Regions from separate parts of the Homo sapiens genome. Here all the other regions are linked to region 2. The links are contacts of gene promoters, found by promoter capture Hi-C in blood cells and fetal thymus (Javierre and others, 2016). All regions are on one chromosome and are shown on one strand. The core of a region is centred on a gene start or on the middle of the fragment in contact, and the rest is flanking DNA. Distances in the headings are between cores, read along the strand shown. Region 1 overlaps TCF7L1 (transcription factor 7 like 1). Region 2 holds the start of TCF7L1 (transcription factor 7 like 1). Region 3 overlaps TCF7L1 (transcription factor 7 like 1).

What was found. Contacts are between HindIII fragments. The CHiCAGO score rates a contact against its expected background, and 5 or more counts as called.
Region 1: a fragment that was not itself captured here is called in contact with the fragment with the promoter of TCF7L1 in region 2 in 2 of 17 cell types (endothelial precursors and megakaryocytes); the score reaches 15.2 in endothelial precursors.
Region 3: a contact is called between a fragment that was not itself captured here and the fragment with the promoter of TCF7L1 in region 2, in 1 of 17 cell types (endothelial precursors). The highest score is 5.4, in endothelial precursors.

The regions. Positions count from the first base shown.
Region 1 is chr2:85,242,722-85,247,306 of GRCh38, reverse strand. All of the region lies in intron 3 of TCF7L1 (transcription factor 7 like 1), which reads right to left. Among named protein-coding and RNA genes, the nearest start is that of TCF7L1-IT1, 59 kb to the right of the region's middle. The HindIII fragment of the contact is 2,851 bases long and covers 1,085-3,935 here.
Region 2 is chr2:85,130,331-85,135,208 of GRCh38, reverse strand. It overlaps TCF7L1 (transcription factor 7 like 1), which reads right to left and starts at 1,817. Exons shown (of 12, transcript NM_031283.3): 1 at 1,276-1,817; 2 at 1,130-1,193; 3 at 759-886. The coding sequence starts at 1,524. RefSeq lists enhancers at 1-57, 58-632, 1,208-1,782 and a silencer at 2,148-2,217. The HindIII fragment of the contact is 24,991 bases long and covers 1-4,878 here.
Region 3 is chr2:85,214,609-85,219,132 of GRCh38, reverse strand. All of the region lies in intron 3 of TCF7L1 (transcription factor 7 like 1), which reads right to left. LOC102724579 (a long non-coding RNA gene) reads right to left here. Exons shown (of 3, transcript NR_136323.1): 2 at 1,927-2,113; 3 at 964-1,133. Among named protein-coding and RNA genes, the nearest start is that of TCF7L1-IT1, 30 kb to the right of the region's middle. RefSeq lists a silencer at 3,753-4,047 and an enhancer at 3,297-4,231. The HindIII fragment of the contact is 1,815 bases long and covers 458-2,272 here.

The sequences.
Region 1 (4,585 bases), core at 1,261-3,760, 110 kb before region 2:
TTCTGAAATAGGATGCATATGAGTGAATGTGTTTGTATAAGAGGGAGAGGTTAATAATAGCGGTCATGGTGATATTAATAACAATAAAAGGTAGTGTGCTAATTTGGATATTGTATCCTGGTAAGCTGTGTTCACTTCACCAGTTTCTCTAAGAAAATGGATTCTGTTGAACTGCTCACTAGCATGGTGTACTTGCTCAAGCACCTGCAAAAAGACAGAGGGGGCTTCTTGTAGGGATGCAAACCCAGTGGGGCAAACAAACAGAGCCTGGTAACAGCACAATCAATCAACTGTTTCAGTTATGAAGGAAAGAGCTGCTAAAACCTCCCACTCCAGTGGAATGTACCTCACTGAAAGCTCTTGGCACTCACTCTTTACAGAGAATGGTGGGTAGCCAGGACCTATGGTGACATCAGGCACAGAGCAATTCTCCTGTCCTACAAGTGGACAAGAGGGAAGGAGGGTGGTGGTCAAAACCATCATGGGGGTACATGTATCAGATAATGACTAGACTGCATGATTTCATGAGATAAGAAAAAAATATCTTGAGAGAAATGCTTGAGAGTCCTTAGGATTGCAATTCTGCTGAGCACTTGGCTCATCTGTTATTAATAAATGCTGGTGGCAATATCCATGAGTACACTTGTCAGAGGGGCTGCTTCCTCCCCCACCGAGCAACGGCCAGATGGAGAAGTCAGGAGACCTGCGTGGAGAGCCTCGCCTTGCCAGGGGCAAATCCATCACCTCAATAAGCCTCAACTCACTGTCTATTAAATAGGAGTGATTATACCAGCTGCACTTAATTCTTAGAACTATTTTGAGGATGAAATGAGATAATGGATGTGAGTCGTTAAGTATGTCAATCTGGGAATATGTGGGTGGAGCTGTGTGGGAGGTGAGCTCCCTTCTGCTCTGTCATGAAAGGCATGTGACACTCTTCATAGTACTTCCCTCTCCCAGGCCCCCAAATAAGCTTGCCTGTCAATTTTGACACATTTAGAATTCATTAAGTAATTAAATCCATTTTGATCTAATTGAGTTTTCCTTTGAGGGCAGTTTAAGATTCCACTAAGCCTGTGAAGCTTATGAGTAATTGCAAGTGGAAACTACACCCAACTGTGTTGAGATGTCCATCCTCGATTTTTTCCCAATGCATGATTTCACTTGCCGGGATGGCACTGTTACATCTGGAGATCAGAACCAAGCCAACCACCACCACTAGCAGAAGCAATAAATAACACCATTGCATTGAGTCAGCACTGTGGACAGTCCTGTCCTAAACCACATTCATGGGGGACACCTGACTGCCATTCACTTGGAGATCTTTCTGGGCAAAGGAGAGCTGGTCAGTCACCGGGTGACCAAAACCGGCACTGCACTGCCCAAGAAGGACATGGCCATCCTTTAACTGTTTCCATCTGACAAACTGCTGTTGGTCTATGGGCAACTGTTGGTCTGTTTTTTTTTTTTTTTAATTAATTAATTTTTTTTTGAGATGGAGTCTCGCTCTGTTGCCCAGGCCGGAATGCAGTGGTGCGATCTCGGCTCACTGCCAGCTCCTCCTCCCAGGTTCATGCCATTCTCCTGCCTCAGCCTCCCGAGTAGCTGGGACTACAAGCGCCCACCACCATGCCCAGCTCATTTTTTGTATTTTTTTTAGTAGAGACGGGGTTTCACCGTGTTAGCCAGGATGGTCTCGATCTCCTGACCTCGTGATCTGCCCGCCTCGGCCTCCCAAAGTGCTGGGATTACAGATGTGAGCCACCGTGCCTGGCCCGGTCTGTTTTAAAGAGGCCCCTGGCTCTGACCTTGTAGCTCAAAGATGAGCCACATGGTTCCAGGTCCCCATCTGGGACTTCTGGTTGCACTGTGCCAGTGGGAAGCCTTGTCAGCCAACCTACCCCATCTTAGAGGGAAGAGGGACTGGTGACTGATGCCCAGTGAAGAGGCTTGCCTTCGGCCCTCCATCCAAGAAGGGAACCCCCTATGGCCCACTATCCTAAGCAAGTGCTGAGCCATAGTCAGCTTCACCCCATTCTCTATGGGAGCCTGACACCAAACCATTGATTACACCAATCTTCTCAGATAAGGCAGTCCAGCTTAGGTTCCAAGTCTGGAGACTTTTTCCTGAGTCTCCTAGGGGGCCAGACGTGCCTGGGATTTTGAAGAGCCTCCTCTCCCTGGTATCTGTCTTGATACCAGATTCTATTCTGGAATCTGTCCTGCTAGCGGGCAGAGTGCCAAGTCTATATTTTGAGGACAGCAAAGACCTGCATTTGCTAAACCTAATGGTTGTTTCTCAGCCCTCATCTCACTCGACCTTCAGCAGCAGCCCCTCTTCCTTCGTACACTCCCCTCCTTGGCTGCAGGAATGCGGCGCCCACCAGGTCTCCTCCTACCTCTCTGGCTGCTCCTTCTCAGTCTCCTTTGCCAGTTCTTGCTCTTCTCTCCAGTGTGCAAAAGCTGTAGTGCCCACGGCTCAGCCCTTGACCTCTTTTTTTCTCAGCTTCAGTCTCAGGGATCTCCTCCAGTCTCATGGCTTGAAGTACCATCAACATGCTGATGACTAAAGTCTCTGTCTCTAACCTAGACCTCATCCCTGACTTCTAGACCCAATTACCCCACCTATCACTCTCCCCACTGGATGTCCAAAAAGTATCTCCAATACAACATGTCCCAAACAGAGCTCCTAATTATTTCCTCCCAAACCTGCCCCTCCCACAGTCTTCTCCATTTCTGTCAATGACACTTTCTTCTTTCCCACTGCCCAGGAGACATTCCTAACTCTTCTTCCTCTTGCTCCCCACATTTGTTCCATCAGCAAATCCTGTCACTCCTCCTTCAAAATGGGTCCAGAATCTGAGAACTTTCCCCATTTCTACTGCCACCATCCAGGCCCCACTGGCCCAACAACTTGTCTCTGATTTTCTACCCTTGACCCCTTCGGTCTATGATTATATCATGGCAGCCATGGCGCTACGTTAAAACAAAGGTTGGATCACGTCACCTTTCTGCTCAAGACCCCTCTCTACTCCCCATCTCAGTCAAAAGGCTTCATCATGGGCTGCATGCCCCTGTGACCAGCCCCCTGTCCCCTTTCTGACTGTGCCTCCTTCAGTGCTGCCCCCCAGCCTTGCCCACTCTGCTCCAGCCACTCTGTTCTGCCCGCTCCTGGAACCTACCAAGCGCCATCCCCTTTGCACCTGCTGTTCCCTCTGCCTGGCGTGCTCTTCCCCCGTGTATGTGTCTATAGAGTTTGTCACCTCCCTGTGAGGCCTTCAATAAATATTGAATAAATGAATGAACAAGCAAACTGAAGGCTTTACCCTGAACCCTCCCTGGCAGGCCGGGATCCCACAGTTTGCCTGTTCGTTCTTTCCCTGTGGCTGGATCCTGAACTCCGCCCACCACATCTCCCACCCCCAGGGGGTGCTGTTCACAATGTGGTCCGTGGCTAGCAGGGCAGCTCCCAACGTCAACTCTGCAGGGAGCCGTGTGAAGTCACAATATGAATACCCGGCCCTTTCTAAGGTGCCTGGCACGTAGTGGATGGCTCAGCGTATATCTCCTGAACGAAGTTTCACCTCTCACCCTGAGCCAGAATCCTGCCCACTCAGAACCCAAGACCCATGCCTGGGGCTGCCTCTGGCCAGGAAGCTCTCTCTCCTCAGCCCATCCCCAGCCTTCTCCTCCTGGCCCAGCTCCCCCTTCCCTTGCTGAGTTTCTAGCACCTCTTATGCTGTTCACACCCAGACAATTCCGAAAACACTGGATCCCCTGTGAATGGTGTGGAAATGCAACTTCCCCACGTGGAGTCGCTGGGCATGTTCCCCTTCCCTTCCCCTCGAACCCTGCACAGAGGGGGCCATTATGTCACACAAGGCCACTTCACGAGTAAGGGACAAAACAGCCCTTTTGAAACTCAAAACAAAGCTTAAGAGCCGCACCTGAGTTACTAAAGCTTCCACTCAGCCTCACCCATTCCTAGCAATAAGCTGCAGCAGCCGGATCTGCTCCCACCTCTGGGTGACGGCTGGGAACACCAGGCTGTTACCTTTCATCAAAAACACAAAGGGACAGCAAGGGACCTCAGGCATGTAATGGCGCCGAGGAGTAGCCATAACATGTTATTACAGAATTAGTTCTTTCGAAACTGCGTGCCAACTGATTATTAATAAACTGCAAAAATGAGTTAAGGGCGGAATAATTGGGGCTGAATGCCTACCAATCCTGCACATGTTAACCAAGACATATGAGGTTCAACTAGAAGCCAATTGAACAGTTACTTATTGTTAACTACTATGTGCCAAGATGTCGGTGCGTCGAGATCTTTAAGACTTGCTGGAGGCCCCACTGCCAGAGGTGTGTAATCTAAATGGGGAAAGGAAAGGAAAACATGCCCTTTCATTCAATAGTTTTTAAAACAGTACAGTGTACTAGGAAAGGCTGAGGTAAAACATCTGCTTCAATAGGGAGGCAGAGAAAAGGGGATATAGAGGCCCTGGGGAGATTTCTTGAAGGAGACAGAAAACTGGAGATCTGCAAAGAGAAGAAACAGGAGGAAGCAACACATCCCGTGTGGAAG
Region 2 (4,878 bases), core at 568-3,067:
AAGGAATCCGCCCTCATTTGCACGTCGTCTGGGGCCCGGTCAATTTGCTTAATCACCGCTCTAAATGCCAGCGGGCAGCACACAATACGCGCCCATTAACAGGTTTAAAGTGTCGCAGCGCTCGCTTTAAATGAGAAAAGCAGGCGACAAAAGGGGGAAAAAGCCAAGTTCCTCAACTTGAAGAATGCCTTGGGTCGCCTCGAAATCATCTACGCGAGTTTAAAATTCGGAGCTAGCTCCGCAGAAAAGCTGAGGCCCCGGTGCGAGGGCTGGGGGTGGGAACGGGGGCTGTGAATAACCCGCCACGAAAACTGGGTTTCTTAGGAACCAGCCTGCAGCCGCCCAGTGAACCCGGAGTCGGAGGACAACGTCGCCAACCCAGCTCCCTAGGCCCCTTGCCCCACTGCCAGAGAAAGCTGACCGATTTCCAAGAAGGAAAGCGAGACCCCCCCAAAGCGGGCACAAATCCAAGTTTCCTTCGGTGCAGGCGAAGAATTCTGGAGGCCAAGGAAGATCCCAGAGGTGGACTCCAAAACCTCAACCCGCAAGAGGGGAAAAGTTAAAGTAACTTTACTTTCATCCAGGCACTGGCCAGCGCAGCCTCGCGCTCGGCCGCCAGAGAGTAGTTCAACTCCGCAAACAAGTTCTGCTTGGGATCGGCGCAGAAGGCCCCATCCCCCACTCCATGGCCAAGCCCGGGGGCGCATCCTGCGGGCCGCGGCCTCCCACCCTCCCCGGCGCGCCCGACGGGCACTCACGGTGCGCGCTCCTCCGGGAGACAGGGGTCCGTTGGAGAGGTACGGGCTGCTCAGGTCCGGGATCATCAGGAAGGGGTACCCAGGGTACGGGGGTCCTTTAAAGAACGCGCTGTCCTGAGGCCTTCTCACTGCGAACAAGACCAAGGCGAGGTGAGGCCCAGGCCCCCGGGACTGACAGCGCCGCGGCAGGGGGCTCGAGGCGGGAGCTGGGGACCCCAGCGCCCCCCACGCGCGCCCCACGGGGGCTGCCGCCAATAAAGGCGGAGGGCAAGGGTGCGTCCACCCAAGCAAGGGGGACGGTGGGCCGCCCGGGCTGAGCAGCGGAGCGCAGCGGGAATCGAGAGTGGGGGGCTGTCCCAGCGGGCACATACCTTCGGCGAAATAGTCCCGCGGCTTCTGGAAAGTGTCCCGGACGGGCTGCGGGCGCCTCTCCGCCTGCGGAGGAGACACAAAGGCAAGAGCGGGTGAGCGGACGCAGGGCCGGGATCCCCCGGGGGTGGCCGCGGTGCTTCCTTACCTCCGAGTCCGAGCTGCTGCTCTGGTTCTCCGACTCGTTGACCAGGGACGACTTGACCTCGTCTAGGTCCCGCTGCGCCGAGGCGCTATCGCTGCTCGGCTCCTGCTCCTCGCCCCCCTCGTCCTGGAAGGGGATCAGCTCGTCGTTCGCCCCGAGGTCGTCCCCTCCGCCGGCCGCCCCGGCGCTGGAGCCGCCGCCTCCCCCGCTGCCGCCGCCGCCGCCGCCGCCCCCGCCGCCGAGCTGGGGCATGGTGGGGCCGCGGGCCGGGGCCGCCGCTCTCGGAGCCCCTAGCCGCCCGCGCCCTGCCCGGCCCGGCCCGGCGCCCCTCCCGCCCGCTTGCGGGCCCGCTGCGCTAGCCGCCGCAACAAAGTTTGACAGGGCGTGGCCCCGCGGGAAGCGGGCCCGGCGCTGCCCGGCCGGGGCGCAGGCGGCTCGGCTCGGGCCCCTCCGGCAGCGCCGAGCCTAGGGCTCCCCAACTCGCCACCGCCGCCGCCTGCTCCGCCGGGGCGTCCCAGCCCCTGGCCCGCCGGGGAGGGGCGAGCGGGGAGGGAGGGAGGAGGGACCGCCGGGCTGGGCAGGGGGGCCGGAGGGAGGAGCCCCGGCTGCAAGCTGACACCCGCGCGCCTCGCGGAACCCGGAGAGCTGCGGTGCGCGCGCACACACACACATACACACGCACTCACACTCACACGTTCACACTCGCATCTTCCAGGGGCTGCGTCTCCCTGCAACGTGCACCGCCCCCAACCCCCTCCTGCGCCTCACACTGCACCCTCGGCGGCCCTCCCCACGGCCTCCCTGGAGTCCTGGAAGTCTTGCGCCCACCCCTCCGCATCCCCTAACTTTCTCCCAAAGAACCTCCAGAACTCCGCGCAGGTTCCCACCCCCTCCCACCGTATCGGCGCGCGGGCGGGCGGCACTGCCCCCTGCGGGAAAGCCTCGGACGCACATACTGGCCGCGGGGCCCTCCCCCTGCCTAGAGTCCCTCCGAGTGCGCGAGCTGATGCACGGACTAGGACACTGGGGACATCTATGGAACCCCGGAAAATGCCCGGCGGCTTTCCGCGCCTTTTTCCTGTGGGGTTCCAACGCGACCCCCGGCCCAGGTTTTCAACCTTGTACAGATATACAGATTTCCCTGCTGAAATCTTGAAGATCACCTTTTCTTCATTGTTTGGGACTAGGTCCTAAATCGAAAAATCGCGGTCTTGGGTTCCAAAAGAATTTGGATTTGGTTCATTGAGAGGGAAAATTGCCTGTCCAGTGATCTCCGAAGCCATTCACAAAGCTGCGTGAGTAGCCAGTGAACACGAGAAAAATGCTCAACCAGCCTCATACCTAAGTAATGCCTGTGGTGCGAGCGCCACGGCCCGCGCCTGGAGTTCCATCTACTCCCGAGGCCTAGGCAGGAGGATCGCTGGAGCCCAGGAGTTTGAGACCAGCCTGGGCAACATAGCAAGACCTTGTCTCCAAAAAAAAAATTTTTTTAATAAAGAAATGCCTGTTACAATGACATTAAGATGTCGTTTCTCTCCAACCTGTGCGGGAAAGTTTGAGGAAAATGAATATCTTGTGTTATCCTCCGTGGGGAACTATTAGAGCATAAACTTTGAAAACAGCTTGGAAGGCAGTATGGAACTATGTAAAACTATTTTCAGCCCAACTGGCAGAAGAGTTTCTACAGAGGTGCCCGCACATATGGGCAAAGCCACATATGCTAGGTTCAAAGCATCAGAGAGCTTGGTGACATGCATTCTTCATCTTTCTTTACAGTGACAGTCCATGCAGCTGGCCAGTTCTATGCAGTGTCCCCGCCCCTCCCCCCACCCATACACACACACACACACACACACACACACACACACACACACACACACACAGGCACATGGACCAAGATTGATTTTGGAGGAACATCTTTAAATGAAACACTATATATGACACTCACTATTTTATTTTTGTTTTTAAAAAAATTATACACATTTATTTCTGCGTAGAAAAAAATCTGAGAAGATGCAAATTATTATCAATGACTATTTCTGGGAAAGGATAAGTGAAAGGAGATAGTTTTCTGGTTTCTATGAACTTTATAACAAGCAGATATGCCTTTTCTAATTTTTTACACAATACATGAGTACAGTCTCATAAAGCGTTTTCAAATAACAGATGTATCTTGAGCAGTATCGAGTAACAAGTAAAAGTTCCTCTTTCCCCCTCAGGACACAGGACCCTTCTAATTAACCACTTTCAGTTAACTGCCTCTGGTTAACCACTGTCACTAGTTTGGTATATATCCTTCCAGACACTTTCCTAGGCAGTTATGAACATATGTAAACGTATTTACAGATATTCTGATGTACATACATAGAATCATACTCTTTGTATTATTGTGTGTTATTTTATTTTTATAAGATTTAAAAGTCAGACGATTTTTCATGTTTATGGTCCATAAATATATGAAAAACCTATTGTACTAGTTTTCTGCTGCTACTGTCACAAATCACGAAAACTTGGTGGCTTAAAACAACAGAAGTTTATCCTCTCATAGTTGTGGAAGACAGAAGTCCACTGTCAGTTTCACTGAGTAGAAATGGAGGTGTTGACGGGGCCATGCTCCCTCTGGAGGCTCCGAAAAGAATCTACCCTTGTCTCTTGCAGCTTCTGGGGGCTTGTGACCACATCACTCCCACCCTTGCGTCTGTAATCACATTGCCTTCTCCTTTTTTTGTCTGTGACAAATTTTCCTCTGCCCCCTTCTTGTAAGAAACCATACTTGTGGCCGGGCACAGTGGCTCACGCCTGTAATCCCAGCTCTTTGGGAAACCAAGGCAGGTGGATCACGAGGTCAGGAGTTCCAGACCAGCCTGGCCAACATGGTGAAACCCTGTCTCTACCAAAAATACAAAAAATTGGCCAGGTGTGGTGGCAGGCGCCTGTAATCCCCGCTACTTGGGAGGCTGAGGCAGGAGAATCGCTTGAATTTGGAGGGAGGAGGTTGCAGTGAGCTGAGATGGCACCACTGCACTCCGGCCTTGGCGACAGAGTGAGACTCTGTCTCAAAAAAAAAAAAAAAAAAAAAAAAGTGATACTTGTGATAGCATTTAAGGACCACCTGGATAACCTGTCCATGTCAAAATCCTTAACTTCATATCTGCAAAGACCTCTTTTCCTTAAACATTCACAGTTTCCAGGGATTAGGTCATAGATGCAGCTTTGGGAGTAAGCCATTATCAGCCTGCCACACCTATAAACCAGAAATGCAAACGGAAACAGCATTGAGATAACCAGTTTTCATCTGTCAGATTGGCAAAGGAAGAAAAGAATGGTAACACCCAGCATTGGCCCCTATACTAAGAAGCACATAGATGCTGGGCCATTGTGTAACAGTTCTAAAGAGAAGTTTGGTAATACCTGTGAAATACCTTTAAAAGTGTGAACCCTTTGACTTATCCACGTACTTCTAGGATTTTATCTGAAGGAAACAACTAGGTACAAAAATAAACCTGTAGAAGTGTGTTCATCACAGTGAAAAAATCTAGAAACAATTTCAATGTCCCCTATAGGGAATTATTAAGTTAAATCATGGTGCATTCATCTAATGGAATG
Region 3 (4,524 bases), core at 116-2,615, 84 kb before region 2:
TGCCCAAGCTGGAGTTCAGGGGCACAAGCGTGGCTCACTGCAGCCCCTAACTTCTGGGCTCAAGCCATCCTCTCACCTCAGCCTCCTGAGTAGCTGGGATTACAGGTGTGTGCCTATTTTATTTTATTTTTTGTAGAGACAGGGTCTGGCTATGTTGACCTGGCTGGTCTTGAACTCCTGGCCTCAAGTGATCCTCCTGCTTCAGCATCCCAAAGTATTGGGATTACAGGTGTGACCCAGTGCTCCTGGCTCTGAACATCTTATTCACCATTATGCCCGTCCATCACAGAGTATCCTTTTATATTATTACTTCTCATATTTTCCCCTGCCTAGATGGTCAGCTGCCACTTAATCTGCAGATGACTGCACTATATAATCAAGCAGTGTTCTTTTATCAAGTCAGGAAAGCCTGGGTAAATATCCAAGGACCTCTCCTAGAGGAAAAAATGCAAAAGCTTTAGGAAAGAACACTATCACCAGTTTTCCCCCCCCCATTGGAATAAAAAGATATTTTAACTAAATATTTCCTAGTTCATGATTTTAATATAGATGTTTGGAACCACTAGAAGTCAGATAACGCTGGGCGTGGTAGCTCACGCCTGTAATCCCAGAACTTTGGGAGGCCAAGGCAGGCAAATCCCTTGAACCTAGGAGTTCAAGACCAACCTGGGCAACATGGTGAAACCCCATCTCTTCAAAAAATACAAAAATTAGCCAGGCATGGTGGCATGTGCTTATAGTCCCAGTTATTCAGGAGGCTGAGGCAGAAGGATTGCTTGAGCCCAGGAGGCGGAATTGCAGTGAGCCAAGATCGTGCCACTGCACTCCAGGCCTGGGTGACAGAGCAAGATCTTGTCTCAAAAATAAATAAATAAATAAATAAATAAATAAATAAAATAAGTAAAGTTAGAAAAGTGTGGGATGCATTTCAGAACATTTTAAATCAAAAACACCTAGAGTTAATTATAGTGCTTTGAAAAGGGAGCATTTATTGTCTGGAAAAAAATTTCTTAAGGGATATAAGACATATATAGGAAAATTTCACCCTATAAATACATAGTGAACACCTCTCGGGCATTCTTCTAGGCACGGGAGAAGAGGACATGATTTTTGATTCCAAGGAATTCCATGGTCTAGTGAAGGAGACAAAAAAGAAAAAAATTATTTTGATAAAAACTGATTAGACCTAATTTAATGCTAGTACAAGTTGAGCATCCCTAACCCCAAAATCGAAAATACAAAATCCAAAATGCTCAAAAATCTGAAACTTCTTGAGTGCCAACATGACACTCAAATGAGATGCTGACTGGGGCATGTCAGATTTTCCAATTACAGATGCTCAGCTGGTCAGTATAATGCAAATATTCCCAAATCCAATAAGAGTTCCAAAACTGCGAAACACTTCTGGCCCCAAACATTTTGGATAAGGGATACTTGGCCTATACAGGGTATTGGGGGAGGGAGTACAGAAGGGAATCATGGGCAAGGAACATGCTACTCAGTGGTGGGTAGGATGTCAGTAAACTCTGAAAAAGAAAAGTGCCTCAACAGCACCTTGGGGTCATTGGTGAGGATACTGGTTGGCAGTGGAATGTCCGAGTCTGTATGGCTGAAGAGCATGGTGCCCATGGGAAGAAGCTGGGACACAGGCTGTGACACCCTATGCTGCGACATGAGTAGTGAGTGACATCAAACGTGAGCAGAATGTGTCTTCCCTCATTTGAACTCATTCACTTTAAACAAAGACCTTGGAAATTAAAGAGTGTAGAAACACCTTAATTTCCTTTTTCTGTGAACAAATTGTTCTGTTTCTCAGAGTGCTTCAGCTGCAAGTCAGTATAACTTGCCAGGTTTGCTTCAATCTTATCTACCTCGTGTTTGTAATTATCAAAGTTAGGAAGTTCACAGGCTTAGGTGGCCACTTACAAACATTTGTTGTGGAGTGAAAATGGCCACAATGTGCAGACTTGTTTCAAGTTGACGCTGTCAGTTTGCCAATGTGGTGAGGGCAGGAGGTGTCTTAAACAATGCCTCATATTCAACACACATGTGGGATTCCCCTTCTGAATTGAAGATGGCTTGCCTCTGAAGACTTCTGGTAAATCACCACGTTCTAGGGACAATGAATGGGGTCATTAAGAAGGCAACTCTTCCTTGCTGGGACACAGGCGGAGGAAGGCTTGCATCCAGGTAGTACTAGAACCCACACTTGGACGGTCTCCTGCAAGGCTCAGATCAAACATCTCTCCAAAGCCTCTGCCTTCTCCAAGCTTGAGAAGCCCCTTTCTCAGGTATTTCAGGTGACATTTTATTCCACTTTGTTGGCGCTCACTGCAGGTATTGTAAAGACTCATGTTCCTGTTTGTTCTCTTACATTGTAAGCTCTGGAGGGCTGGGACCCTATCATGCTCTCCTTGGTAGCCACAGAAGTTGTTCGGTAATTGCTAACTGGAGAGGGGGATGCACACACACCAGGCATTCTTCCAGGGCCGGGAGGAAGGGGCTAACGTTGGTCTGATTAATTTCCCAACATACGCCTTCTAGAAGCAAAAGGAAGCATGGACATGTTTGTGGGCTGGTATGTTTGCTTCTATCTTATTTTACTCTCTGAGGCAAAATAAAAAGGGTAAGATGAACTCAGTTAACTTAATATCACCAATTGCTCACTGGAAGTTGTTTGGAATCCATCGTTTCCGAAAACTCCAAGCACAGCAGGGCGCGAGGTTCCCAGATGGCAAGTGGGCTGTCGGGTCTTCATGGGCAGCGGAAACGGGCAAATTGCATTTTGCACAGTCACATACCTTCTCAGCAGAGCCCAACTATTATTTCCTCACCAGTCAAGTAATGCAGGGTGGGGGATGGGGGGAAAAAAGCTGCCCGGAGCCACGGGGAAGGAAAGGCTGGGCAGGCAGGGCCCAAACTTGCTCATACTTTGTTAGTGCCTTTTCTTCCCTTTTGAATAAAATCTGCATTCCCTTTCTCGGAGAAGGGCAGCCGGGCTCCCCACCTAACACAGCCCTGAATGCAGTGGACTTGGTGCCCCAAAGCCAAGCTCCTCAAGGAAGCTGAACCCAGGCCAGCATCACCACAAGAGGAGAAAGGGAGATTGTCCCCCGCCCAGCGCCAACATTTCATTCTCTTCAGAGGCCTCAAAACCCTAATTTGACCACAAAAACCTGGCCTCTGGTGTTTCTGTTATGAGTATCGGATTCCTTCGGCTGAACTTGGCTGTTCACTGCCTGAACAAATTACATTAACAATACAGAGAAATGTATACAGGGCCTTAAAAACACTGCTGAGCAGGGACCAAAACAAAGACAGCCGTGTCCTAGCAACAAACCTCACCACCCCCCTCACCCCCCCCCACCCCCACCCCAGCAGCCTTGGGCTCTGCCAGGGATTGTAAGCCATTGAGCTCCTCTCTTCTCTGCAAACAATTAGGGACAGAGAAGTCACAATTACAGATGGGATTTACAGCCAAAGGAGCAATCTATAAATCACAGTGCTCCCACCCCCGGCCATTCCCAGCCAGATAATCAGAGCCAGATGTTCGGCACAGCTGCTTCAACGTGGGTACACTGTTGGCCAACTCGACCATGTTCCCGCTCTGAGAACCAGCAAAGGCTCCAGCCAAGCCAACCTGCCAAGCAAGGCGGGGGGCCTCTGCACCCTGGAGCCCACCCAACTGTAGGAAAAGTTGCGTTGTGTGGGAACTGTTTGTTGAAGCCATTGTAGAGGTACATCACTGGCGAGGGTATGTGGCTCCCTGGAGTTCCCTCGAACGCTGCACAATTTCGTGATAGTGGTGACAATGACAATCAGCATCTTTAGCATTTATTGATCACCTGCTACGGACTCACCACTGGGTGGAGCACGTTACAGGTACTCCTTTGCTAAAGAACACTCAAGAGTTCACCCAATTCACAAAGAAACGGAACCTGAGAGAGGGCAACTGTTTTTCAGAAGGTCCCGGTGTTAAAGTGGCAGAACAGCAATTCAAAGCTGGATCTGCTTGACCTTGATGCCCCAGGAATCTCATCTAATTGTAGAGGGATGGACAGACTCTGGTTTCAGGGCACAGGGCTGGAGTTTCCAAATTACTCTCTTGATGGTCAAACTAGGAAGAGACTTGCCATTATTTTACTCTCCATAGCTGGCTGGTGTTTTAAATGTCTGGACTGAACCAAATCAGGTTTTTAGCACCTAGGACCAGGGGACAGCAAACTCCAAATATGGTAAAAGCTAGGTTATTCAAATGTTGCCAAGGTGTTTCTGTTCACAGTCCACCTTTATGCATATTTTTCTTTATTGTTACTTATTCACTGAGATATAGCATATATACAGTAAAATGTACACATCTTTTTTAAAACTCGGGGAGCCCCTGTTACCAGAATAGGTTCAGAGCGATTCCCCACATCTTAAATGTACAGCTCAATTAATACATCTGTATAAACTTGTGTCACCACCACCAGATCAAGATACAGAACATTCCAGAACCATTCTAGAGGTTCTTGCATATCCTGT